4 separate regions of the Homo sapiens genome follow, and regions 1, 2 and 3 are each linked to region 4. Evidence: promoter capture Hi-C in human tissues and cell types (Jung and others, 2019). All regions are on one chromosome and are shown on one strand. The core of a region is centred on a gene start or on the middle of the fragment in contact, and the rest is flanking DNA. Distances in the headings are between cores, read along the strand shown. Region 1 overlaps ARMC6 (armadillo repeat containing 6). Region 2 has its middle 19 kb from the start of HOMER3. Region 3 overlaps KLHL26 (kelch like family member 26). Region 4 holds the start of UPF1 (UPF1 RNA helicase and ATPase).

Region 1 (2,912 bases), core at 390-2,889, 210 kb before region 4:
ATACCTCGATAAAGTTGAGAAAAAAAATCTCAGAACTCCTATATATGAAATGGGAATATCCATATAAACCCATCATGTGTTTTCTCTTAGGTAAACAAAGATCTAATTTTCTAGTCATAGCAACTAAAAATGCCTAGGAGAAATGACAGCACAGGAGCACTGAATACCTCTAACACCATGTATGGTTTCTACCATTTCCCACGAAAAGGAGCTGGGGCCAGGGCTAGGTGGCTCACTCCTGTAATCCCAGCACTTTGGGAGGCTGAGGCAGGAAGATGGCTTGAGGCCAGGAGTTCAACACTAGCCTGGACAACATGGGGAGGCCCTGTCTCTACATAAAATCTTTAAAAACAAGGAGCCAGGGCTTCTGGAGGAATGGCTGATTCCAAGTCCCAGCAGGTCATGGGGCAGGTAACGCTGGGGTCTTGTGAGACCAGGAAGCAAGGAAGCTTCCAAACCCTAAGGGATGCCTGGTAGCTACAGATGAGACAAGTGAGCATTAAAAAAAAATCCAGTACATATCAAAATCAAAATCTGGGCCAGGTGTGGTGGCTCACGTCTGTAATCCCAGCAATCAGGGAGACCGAGGTAGGAGAACCACTTGAGCACAGAGGCGGAGGTTGCAGTGAGCCGAGATCATGCCATTGCACTCCAGCCTGGCTGACAGTCAGACGATGTTGCAAAAAAAAAAAAAAGTCAAACTCTGTGCTTTCATAATACTAAAACAAATACAGCTCAGGCTTCTGAAAACTGGCCAAGAATCCAGCTCTTGGCAGGGAGTGGTGGCATGCTCTTGTACTCCCAGCTACTACTCAGGAGGCTGAGATGGGAGGATCACTTGAATCCAGGAGTTCAAGACCAGCCTGGCCAACGTAGCGAGACACTGTCTCTACAATAATTAGTAACAATTTTTTTAAAAAAAACCTAGCACTTAACCTGCCTCCCTTGTACAAATGAGTCCCAGGTTATAAAAAGAGGATGAGGAAAAGTTCTGCTTCCGATTCCAGCTGATCAGCTGTGACAGGAGAGAAACAGATAATGATCCCACAGGATCCAAAACCATCAGGTGTAAAACTGATGGGAGCCCAACAAGGGGTAGACAGGAACTCAGTCTACTGCTTGATCTCACATCATCAAGAGAAACCAGCAACACCTACCTCCTGAACAAGAACAAAATGCACCTGTGAAGTCATCGTGCCAAAATCTCAAACCCGAATCTGATCATGCATTCAGGGCACTTCCTGCTATGATGAAACGTTCTCTATCTGCACTGCCTAGTACAGAAGCCATTGGCCTCTGTGGCTATCACACAGCTGAAGTGTGGCAGTGTGGCTGAGGAACTGAGTGTGTAATTTTATTTCATTTTAATTTGTTAATGTAAATAGCCATGTGTGACGAGTGACTATGGTATTGCACAGCACAGCTCTGACACCTTAACCAACACCATGGGGATGTGATCTGCAAAATCCCTACTAGGGAAGAGAATGTCAACTAGAGGACAAACACCCAGAGTTTTCAACAAATAAATCACAAGAACAAAGAAAAGGAGACGGAGTCTACCAACAGATGAATGGATAAAATGGTCTGTGCGCATGGTGGTATATTACTCAGCCAGAGAAAGGAATGAGGTGCTGAAGCATGCTACAATGGAGATAGACCTCAAAAACATGATGTCTCGTCAAAGAAGCCAGACACGAAAAGCCTCATATTGCACGATTCCAATGACATGAAATATCCAGAACAGGCAAATCCACAGACACAAAAAGCAGACTGGGTGTTGCCAGGGACTGGAGGAGAGGGAATGGGGAGTAACTTCTAATGGGTATAGGGTTTCCTTCTGGGTGATGAAAACGTTCTTGAATTATAGTGATGATGGTTGTACAACTCTGTGAAAACGTAAAATCACTACATCAGGCCAGGCATGGTGGCTCACACCTGTGATCCCAGTGCTTTAGGAGGCCAAGGTGGGAGGACTGTTTCAAGTCTGGAGTTTGAGACCAGCAAGGACAACATAGTAAGGCCCCGTCTCTACAAAAAAATTTAAAAATATAGTCAGGTGTGGTGGCATTTGCGTGTGGTTGAAGTTACTCGGGAGGCTGAAGCAGGAGGATCATTTGAGCCCAGGAGTTCAAGGCTGCAGTGAGCTGTGACTGGGCCACTGCACTCCGGTCTGGATGACAGAGGGAGACCATGTCTCCAGAAGAAAAAAAAAAATTACTAAATCAAATGAGTGAATATTATGGTATGTAAATTATAGCTCAATTTCTTAAAGTGCTAATCTGTTTAAAAACAAAAAGAACTGAGCAATGACTTGTGCCTGTAATCTCAGCAACTTGGGAGGCTAAGGCGGGGGGATCACTCAAGCACAGGAGTTTGAGACCAGCCTGCGGCAACACAGTGAGACCATATCTCTTAAAAAAAATGTGTGTGTGTGTGTGTGTGTGTGTGTGTATACACACAAACCCACCTTATAAAATAAAAATAAGCAAGTAAGGCCAGGCATGGTGGCTCATGCCTGTAATACCAGCACTTTGGGAGGCCAAGGCAGGCAGATCACCTGAGGTCAGGAGTTCAAGACCAACATGGCGAAACCCCGTCTCTACTAAATATACAAAAATTAGTGGGGCGCCTGTAATCCCAGCTACTCGGGAGGCTGAGGCAGGAGAATGGCTTGAACCAGGGAGGTGGAGGTTGCAGTGAGACAAGATCACGCCATCGCACTCCAGCCTGGGCAACAAGAGCAAGACTTCGTCTCAAAAAATAAATAAATAAACAAACAAGTAAAACCCAGTATAGGCATACCCTGGAAACCAGGGGTAGGTATCAACACTTAGATGACCCACTAACCTTGGGCAGTACCTTCCACTCTGACAGGTGGGAACAAGACATAGAGTTAAGTAAGATAAAACTCT
Region 2 (2,700 bases), core at 201-2,700, 130 kb before region 4:
CACCTGATGGGGCAGCCTGGTCCTGCACTGCCCACCCAATAAAGATAGCCCCGCCCCATCAGGCGCATCCTGGACCCAAGTCCACTCCTCCCTATGGGCCGCTGTCTGGTCCCTAGCACCGGCTGACCTTTGCGCCCCGCCTTCTTTCTATACCGTGGATGCAGGAATAGCCTCGTCCCAAAACCTGCCCCTACATGTCCTTGCCGTGTGACCCCGGGAGTATCGTTTCACCTCTGAACCTCAGCTTTCCCCTCTCTACAGTGAGTGGGGGTCGAGCCCCCTCTGTGACTCGATTGATCCACTCCTAGCAGGCTGTTGGATCGACGATCTTTGAGGATGCAGGTTGAGCGCTCAGCATATCACCGGCGCTCAATAAATGGCCTTGTTTCTTCCGTTTGTCTGGAACAGGAGATGCAGAAATAGGCAGTAGTGGCTGGCCATGATGGCTCACACTTGTAATTCCAACACTTTGGGAGGCTGAGGCGGGTGGATCACCTGAGGTCAGGAGTTCGAGACCAGCCTGGCCAACATGGTGAAATCCCGTCTCTACTAAAAATACAAACATTAACAGGGCATGGTTGTGCACGCCTGTAATCCCACCTACTAGGGAGGCCAAGGCAGGAGAATCGCTTGAACTCAGGAGGCGGAGGTTGCAGTGAGCCGAGATGGCGCAACTGCACTCCAGCCTGGGCAACAGTGAGACTCTGTCTCAAAAAAAAAAAAAAAAAGAGCCGGGCGCTGTGGCTCACGCCTGTAATCCCAGCACTTTGGGAGGCCAAGGCGGGCGGATCACGAGGTCAGGAGATCAAGACCATCCTGGCTAACACGGTGAAACCCCGTCTCTACTAAAAATACAAAAACAAAATTAGCCCGGTGTGGTGGCGGGCGCCTGTAGCCCCAGCTACTCGGGAGGCTGAGGCAGGAGAATGGCGTGAACCCGGGAGGCGGAGCTTGCAGTGAGCCGAGATCGCGCCACTGCACTCCAGCTTGGGAGACAGAGCGAGACTCCGTCTCAAAAAAAAAAAAAAAAAAAAATTATGCGGGCATGGTGGTGCATGCCTGTAATCCCAGCTACTCAGGAGGCTGAGGCAGGAGAATCACTTGAACCTGGGAGGCAGAGGTTGCAGTAAGCCGAGATCATGCCATTGCACTCCAGCCTTGTTGACAGAGCGAGACTCCGTCTCAAAAAAAGAGAAAGAAAGAAAAAAAGAAATAGGCAGTAGTTGGAGAGGGCTGGCTGAGGAAGAAGCCAGCAGGTTGGGCAGGGGCAGAAGCCGGCCCTGAACCTCAGTTTTCTTATCTGTAAAAGGGACCTTCAGGCCAGGTACAGTGACTCATGCCTGTAATCCCAGTGGTTTGGGAGGCTGAGGTGGGAAGATAGCTTGAGGCTCCCCTCACTGGACAGCTAGACACACTTCCCTGCTGGACATTCTAAATTAAATTAGCCCCCTAAAAATGTAAGACACAGGCTGAAGGGTGGGGTCCCATCTCTACCTTGCCTTCACTGGCTGCAGGTCTGAGTGCTCATGGATTTTCTTTTTTTTTTTTTTTTTGAGACGGAGTCTTGCTCTGTTGCCCAGACTAGAGTGCAATGGCACGATCTCGGCTCACTGCAACCTCCACCTCCCGGGTTCAAGCGATTCTCCTACCTCAGCCTCCTACGTAGCTGGGATTTCAGGTACGTGCCACCACGCCCGACTAATTTTTTGTATCTTTAGTGGTGATGGGGTTTCACCATGTTGGCCAGGCTGGTCTCAAACCCCTGATCTCAGGATCCATCCACCTCGGCCTCACAAAGTGCTGGGATTACAGGCACGAGCCACCGCGCCCGGACGGTCATGGGTTTTCTTGTCATTGGTGGTGTTTTGAAACAGAGCCTCACTCTGTCACACAGGCTGGAGTGCAGAGGTTGATCACGGCTCACTGCAGCCTTGATCCCAGGCTCAAGTGATTCTCCCACCTTAGTCTCCCAAGTAGCTGGGACTATCGGTGTGCGCCACCACACCCAACTAATTTTTTTATTTTTAGTAGAGATGGGATTTCACTATGATGGCCAGTCTGGTCTCAAACTACCAGGCTCAAGCAATCTGCCCGCCTCAGCCTCCCAAAGTGCTGGGATTACAGGCGTGAGCCTCGGCACCTGGCCCAGACAGTCTTTTATTTATTTATTTTCCGAGACAGGGTCTCACTGTGTCACCCAGGCTGGAGTACAGTGGCACAATCATGGCTCACTGCAGCCTCTAATTCCTGGGCTCAAGCGATCCTCCCACATCAGCCTCCTAAGAAGCTTGGACCACAGGCATGCACCACCATGCCTGGCTAATTTTATTTTATTTTTTGTAGAGATGGGTTTTGCCATGTTGCCCCAGACTGGTCTCAATCTCCTGGGCTCAAGTGATCCCCTGGCCCCAGCCTCCCAAAGTACTGGGATTACAAGCATGAGCCACGGCACCCAGCCAAATTGGGATTTATAAAAACCTTTGTCAAGAGAGTGTAGGCTGGGCACGGTGGCTCACCCTTGTAATCCCAGCACCTTTGAGAGGCCGAGGCAGGTGGATCACTTGAGGTCAGGAGTTCAAGACCAGCCTGATCAACATGGTGAAACCCTGTTACTACTAAAAATACAAAAATTAGCAGGGCATGGTGGCGCATGTCTGTAGCCCCAGCTACTCATGGGGGCTGAGACAGGAGAATCACTTG
Region 3 (2,700 bases), core at 62-2,561, 160 kb after region 4:
TTAAAAACACGCGCGCAGGAGACTTGGAAGGAGGGTGAGTCATATACCACCGACTTTGGGTTCAATGTTGATGAGCTCACATCTGAATGCCTGAAACCGTGGGGCTGGGAGGCAGTAGAGAAGTGAGATGGAGCTGCACAGGGACCCCCTGGAGACCTGGGATTCCACCCGCCAGCCCGTGGGGACTCGGGGGCCAGGCGAGGAAACCACCCCGGGGACGAATTTGCTGCCACCACATGTCAGACGCTTTGCCGGCAGGCTCCCTCGGATGGACTCGCAGCCAGGATCTGCTTTGGGAAGGAGGGAGGGAGGGACCCCTGGGAGGGGGGCTTATCAACGCAGCAGGCCCCTCAAGGGCAGCCCGGGCGAAGGGGGGCACTGGGGTTCTCAGGCAGACGTGCATTCGCCAAGCCCCACTTGGAGACAACATGCGGTCAGGCCAGGGTCCCGGGGGTCTTGGGGGCTACCTCCTGGTCCCGGCCCGGGGCAGCAGGACGGGGGCGCAGGCTATGCCTGCGAAGGACTCCGGGAAGTGCAGGTCCCGCTCCCACTCGTCGGTGTCCGTGTTGTACACCTGTACGATGCCCGTGACGTTGTTGAGACGCCAGTTGTAGCCCCCGACGATGTAGATCTTCCTCTCCAGCAGGCAGCAGCCGGCCTCTGACTGGCCGGCCCGCATGGGGCTCACGCTGGTCCACTGGTCCGTCTCCGGCACATAGTACTCCACAGCCAGCACGTCGAAGCAGCGGTCCACGTGGTCCATGCGGCCCCCGAGGGCATAGATGCGGCCGCCGGCACCCACCATGGCGTGTAGCACGCGGGGTTCGCTCATGGGCGCCTTGAACTCCCACTGGTCGGCCACGGGGTCGTAGCAGTGCAGGGCCTTCTTGTCCTCCACTGAGATCCCGTAGCCACCCGAGATGTAGAGGCGGCCCCCTGAGGCGGCCCCAGCATGGCCCCAGGTACGGCGCTTCAGCGAGCAGGCGTAGCCCCACTCATTGCGCCGGGGGCAGTACCGCTCCACGGAGGCCAGGCTGCCGGCTCGGTTGCGGCCGCCCGTGGCGTACACCATGCCGCACAGCACGTTCAGCTGGAACTGGATGCGGCTTTCCTGCATGGCCTGCAGGCGCAGCCAGCGATTCAGGTGGGGGTCGTAGCGGTAGCAGGCGTCCACTGCGCCCTCGCCGCTGCGGTACTGCAGGTGCTGCCCCCCGGCCACGTACACAAAATTGTCCAGCACGGCCACGCACGTGTGGCTGCAGCCTACCTCCATCTCCGTGAGCTCGCGGAAGTGGCGGGCTCCCGGCTCAGGCAGCTGGTAGACCTTGCTGCTGACCGAGCGGTCGCTGTCGGTGTAGGGCGTGCCGCCGAAGGTGACGAGCGAGGGCACATCCGAGCGCACGGCGGTGCGCGGAGACTGCATCTCGTGCTGCCGGAAGGGCAGCACCTGGTAGTTGAAGGCCTCCAGCAGATACTGGCGGCACAGCACGTCCTCCACCATGATGTCCAGCGTCTGCACGCTGTCCACCAGCTCGGACGACTGCATGAGCGGGAAGCGAATGTGGCAGAGCACGTGGCTGGCGCGCGGCCGCCGGGCCGGGTCATGCTGCAGCCAGCGGACGGCCGCGCGGAACAGGTCGATCTCGGCACAGCTCTGCAGCCGGTTGCTCTGCAGGAAGAAGACCAGGCGCTCCAGTGGCAGGCGCAGGAAATCCTCCTCCTCGGCGATCTGCAGGAAGTGCCGGAAGGTGAAGGCATCCACCGACTCTCGCAGCGAGGCCAGGCTGAAGGTGGTGGCCATCTGGCCGATGTTGAGGCAGGTCTCCACGCTCATGGCCGCCTTCAGGAACTCCTCGCACAGCTCCACCACGGGCAGCATCTGCAAGAACACGGCCGCGCCCAGCACGTCCTGCACGCAGTCCAGGTCCAGTGTCACCTCGGCGCTGTAGGCGAAGTCGATGATGTGCCGCAGGCCACGGGCCGACACGCCCTTCAGCTCGATGACGTCCTGGCTTGCCTCCCGCATGCCGCCGGTGAACATGGCCCTGAAGGGCAGAAACACAACGTGTGGCTGGCAGTGGCTGAGGGGTGTTTTGGCCAGCCAGGAATGATCTGGCCTGGGGAACAGTAGCCTGGGGACACAGAACACAGGGCACAGCCAGCAAGAGGAAAGTAGGCGGAATGCTCATTAAAAACATGCAAAGGGGCCGGGCGCGGTGGCTCATGCCTGTAATCCCAGCACTTTGGGAAGCCCAGGCGGGTGGATCATGAGATCAGGAGATCGAGACCACTGGCACTGCACTCCAGCCTGGGTGACAGAGTGAGACTCAGTCACAAAAACAAACAAACAAACAAACAAACAAAAACATGCAAAGGCCAGGCACAGTGGCTCACGCCTGTAATCCTAGCACTTTGGGAGGCCGAGGTGGGTGGATCACCTGATGTCAGGAGTTCAAGACCAACCTGGAGGTTGCAGTGAGCCGAGATCATGCTGCACTGCAGCCTGGACAATAAGAGTGAGACTCTGTCTCAAACAAACAAAAAAAACATGCAAAAAAAAAAAAAGATTTTGAATCCACCCAAGCCATGCATCTTCCTATAAATAGCAACTCCCTGCTTGGCCCCTCTGCAGAGGACCCTGCCCCTGCCCCTTCATGACTAGATCGTGTTGGAGCTGCAGGAGCGGTGGCCCGGGTCAGC
Region 4 (2,700 bases), core at 30-2,529:
TGGGAGGCAAAAATTCTTCTCTGCCTCAACCTTCCGCTGGCCAGCGCCCCTATGCATGGGGAAAGTCGAACCTACGCTCCGTGACTGTGAAAGGTGGGGTGCCCAGATGGCTGCGACCACAGATGGGAGGTGGGACAGGCGGCCAGACCCACCAATGGGGAGACCGGGCAGGACCCCCGGACCAGGCCAGAGACAGGATTAGGGCAGGTCACCCTGGATACTCCCGGAAAGGGACTGAGGGAAGTCACTCAAGCTCCGGCCTGAGCAAGACCCGGCCCAGGTCGTAGGAGAACTCGAGGCAGAATACCGAGACCTGCGAAAGAGGGACCAGGGCAGGTCACCCTAGCCCGGATGGAATGGAAGAACTCAGATAAGTCAGGGGGCAGGTTACTCCAGGCCAGACTGATTGTGGGACACAAGGCAGGTCAGCCCGGGCCCAGGAGGGGGAGCAAACCCAGCTGGCGTAAAGGAACAGGGTCAGGTTAGCTCGGTCCCGAACGAAGTGGAGGACTCGAGGCAAGTCTGCCCGGCCCAGGAGTTGGGGGCCGAAGGAACTCAGCCAGGTCGCGGCCGGAGCGGGGGACCCGGGGCAGATCAGGCCAGGCCCGGGCAGATTGCAGGACCTGGGGCAGGTAAGCTCAGGCCGAGCCAGAGTAGGGGACCCGGGGCAGATCGCCCCAGGCCCGGCCGCGATGGGGGACTCCGGCCAAACACAGGCCGGGCCCGAGGCGAGTTCGGGGCAGGTCTCAGGCGCCGAGGCCGGGCCCGGGCTTCCGGCACCGCCATGTGCCGCTCACCTGCGCGTCGAGCTGTCCCGCCGCAGCGCCCGCGCCCGCGCCGCCCGGGCCTCCCGCGCCGCCACCGCCCGGGCCGCCGGGGCCGCCGGGGGGCGTCTGCGTCTGGCTAGGAAGAGTAAAGTCGGTGAACTCGAACTCGGAGCCCTGTGTGTCGGCGCCAAGCAGCTCGGCCTCCTCCGTGTCCAGGAAAGTGAGAGTCTGCGAGCTGGGCCCGTACGCCTCCACGCTCATGGTGCCTCCGGGTAGGGCCCTCGGGCCGGTTCCGCGCTGCACTCGAGCCCGCCGCCGCGCTGAGGCCTAGGCCGCAGGCCTCGGGTCGCTGCCGCTGTCGCCCCCGCGCGCCCGGAAAGGACCAAACCGCGCGCCCCGGCGCCAGCCGGACCGAGAGGTAACAGTGCCGAGCCGCCGCCGCTGCCGCCGAGCCCCTCCGCGCCTCAGCTCCCCTCGAAGCCGCCAGCCGCTCGCAGCCTAGAGCAGGAACTGCCGCCACCGCCGCCGTCGCCGTGCGCGTGCGCGAGCCCGACGCCGGCGGAAGCGCGCGCGCTCTTCGCGGGCGCCTGGTGCCCAGCAGGAAGACGGGACGCGCACCGCGCACGCGCAGGGGGTGGGGCTTTCAACCGCCGCTGCGGCGGCAGCTCGAGGACTTGGTCCCGCCCCAACTGCTAATTGGGGACGCCCGGGCGGCTGGCGGTGTGGACTTGGTGGTCTGCACCTGTGGTCGCTGCGACGGTGTTTCGGTTTAATTGAGCGCTAGCCGAATACCCTACATAGGTGGTCTCGGAACGCCCAACTGGAGAGACTGGGCAGGGACGGTGCGCTCCCACTCCTGGCAAAAGCTGCTTGGAACTCAGTTTCCCCATCTGTAAAATGGAGGGTGCCTCGCACATAGTAGATGCTCCCTGTGCATTGGTTTAAAAAGGGAGTGGGGCTCGGCGCGGTGGTCACACCTGTAATCCCAACACTCAGAGGCTGAGGCGGGAGAACTGCTTGAACTCAGGAGTTCGAGACCAGCCTGGGAGACAGAGTGAGACTCCATCTCTACAAAAAATATAAAAATTAGGCCGAGCGCGGTGGCTCACGCCTGTAATCCCAGCACTTTGGGAGGCCGAGGCGGGTGGATCATGACGTCAGGAGATCGAGACCATCCTGGCTAACATGGTGAAACCCCGTCTCCACTAAAAATACAAAAAATTAGCCAGGCGTGGTGGCACGAGCCTGTAGTCCCAGCTACTCAGGAGGCTGAGGCAGGAGAATCGCTTGAACCCAGGAGGCGGAGGTTGCAGTGAGCCAAGATTGTGCCACTGCACACCAGCCTGGGCAACAGAGTGAGACTCTGTCTCAAAAAAAAAAAAAAAAATTAGCTAAGCGTGGTGGTTCGCACCTGTAGTCCCAGCTACTAGGGAGGCTGAGGTGGGAGGATCGCTTGACCCTGGGAAGTTGAGGCTGCAGTAAGCCGAGATTGCACCACTGCACTCCAGCCTGGGTGACAGAGCGAGACCCTGTCTCAAAAATAAGTAAAAATAAATGAATGGGGATAGTCTTACGTACTGGGCCTGGCACTTGGAAATGATGGTTGCTGCTGTTCCTGATGCCTCTGCCACTGTTATTATACCATTACTATTTTTGCTATGATTATTATTTAGTGGACGTATACAGCAAAACAACTGGAAGCACATGGTCTGTGGTGGACTCTAGACCTGACCACTTACCAGCTGTGTGAAATTATACAAGTGACTTAACCTCTCTGAGCCTAGGGTTTCTGTTGCCATTAAGGTGGCATAGGAAGCCTGGGCAAGGTGGCTCTTTCCTGAAATCCCAGCACTTTAGGAGGTAGAGGCAAGAGAATCACTTGAGCTCAGGAGTTTGAGGCTGCGGTGAGCTATGATTGTGCCACTGCACTCCA

What was found. The method cuts DNA at HindIII sites, captures the fragments that hold promoters and counts their contacts. A contact is called where the count stands out against the background at its distance.
Region 1: a fragment that was not itself captured here is called in contact with the fragment with the promoter of UPF1 in region 4 in 2 of the 25 tissues and cell types used here (dorsolateral prefrontal cortex and lymphoblastoid cells).
Region 2: a fragment that was not itself captured here is called in contact with the fragment with the promoter of UPF1 in region 4 in 1 of the 25 tissues and cell types used here (dorsolateral prefrontal cortex).
Region 3: a fragment that was not itself captured here is called in contact with the fragment with the promoter of UPF1 in region 4 in 2 of the 25 tissues and cell types used here (aorta and dorsolateral prefrontal cortex).

What each region holds. Positions count from the first base shown.
Region 1 is chr19:19,038,438-19,041,349 of GRCh38, reverse strand. The region is part of intron 2 of ARMC6 (armadillo repeat containing 6); the gene reads right to left. Among named protein-coding and RNA genes, the nearest start is that of ARMC6, 6.3 kb to the right of the region's middle. The HindIII fragment of the contact is 5,677 bases long and covers 1-2,912 here.
Region 2 is chr19:18,959,173-18,961,872 of GRCh38, reverse strand. No RefSeq gene overlaps it. Among named protein-coding and RNA genes, the nearest start is that of HOMER3, 19 kb to the right of the region's middle. The HindIII fragment of the contact is 4,315 bases long and covers 1-2,700 here.
Region 3 is chr19:18,667,009-18,669,708 of GRCh38, reverse strand. It overlaps KLHL26 (kelch like family member 26), which reads right to left. Exons shown (of 3, transcript NM_018316.3): 3 at 1-2,045. The coding sequence ends at 464. Among named protein-coding and RNA genes, the nearest start is that of CRTC1, 15 kb to the left of the region's middle. The HindIII fragment of the contact is 7,470 bases long and covers 1-2,700 here.
Region 4 is chr19:18,830,538-18,833,237 of GRCh38, reverse strand. It overlaps UPF1 (UPF1 RNA helicase and ATPase), which reads right to left and starts at 1,279. Exons shown (of 24, transcript NM_002911.4): 1 at 798-1,279. The coding sequence starts at 1,028. RefSeq lists silencers at 666-745, 756-845, 996-1,095, 1,216-1,475. The HindIII fragment of the contact is 23,837 bases long and covers 1-2,700 here.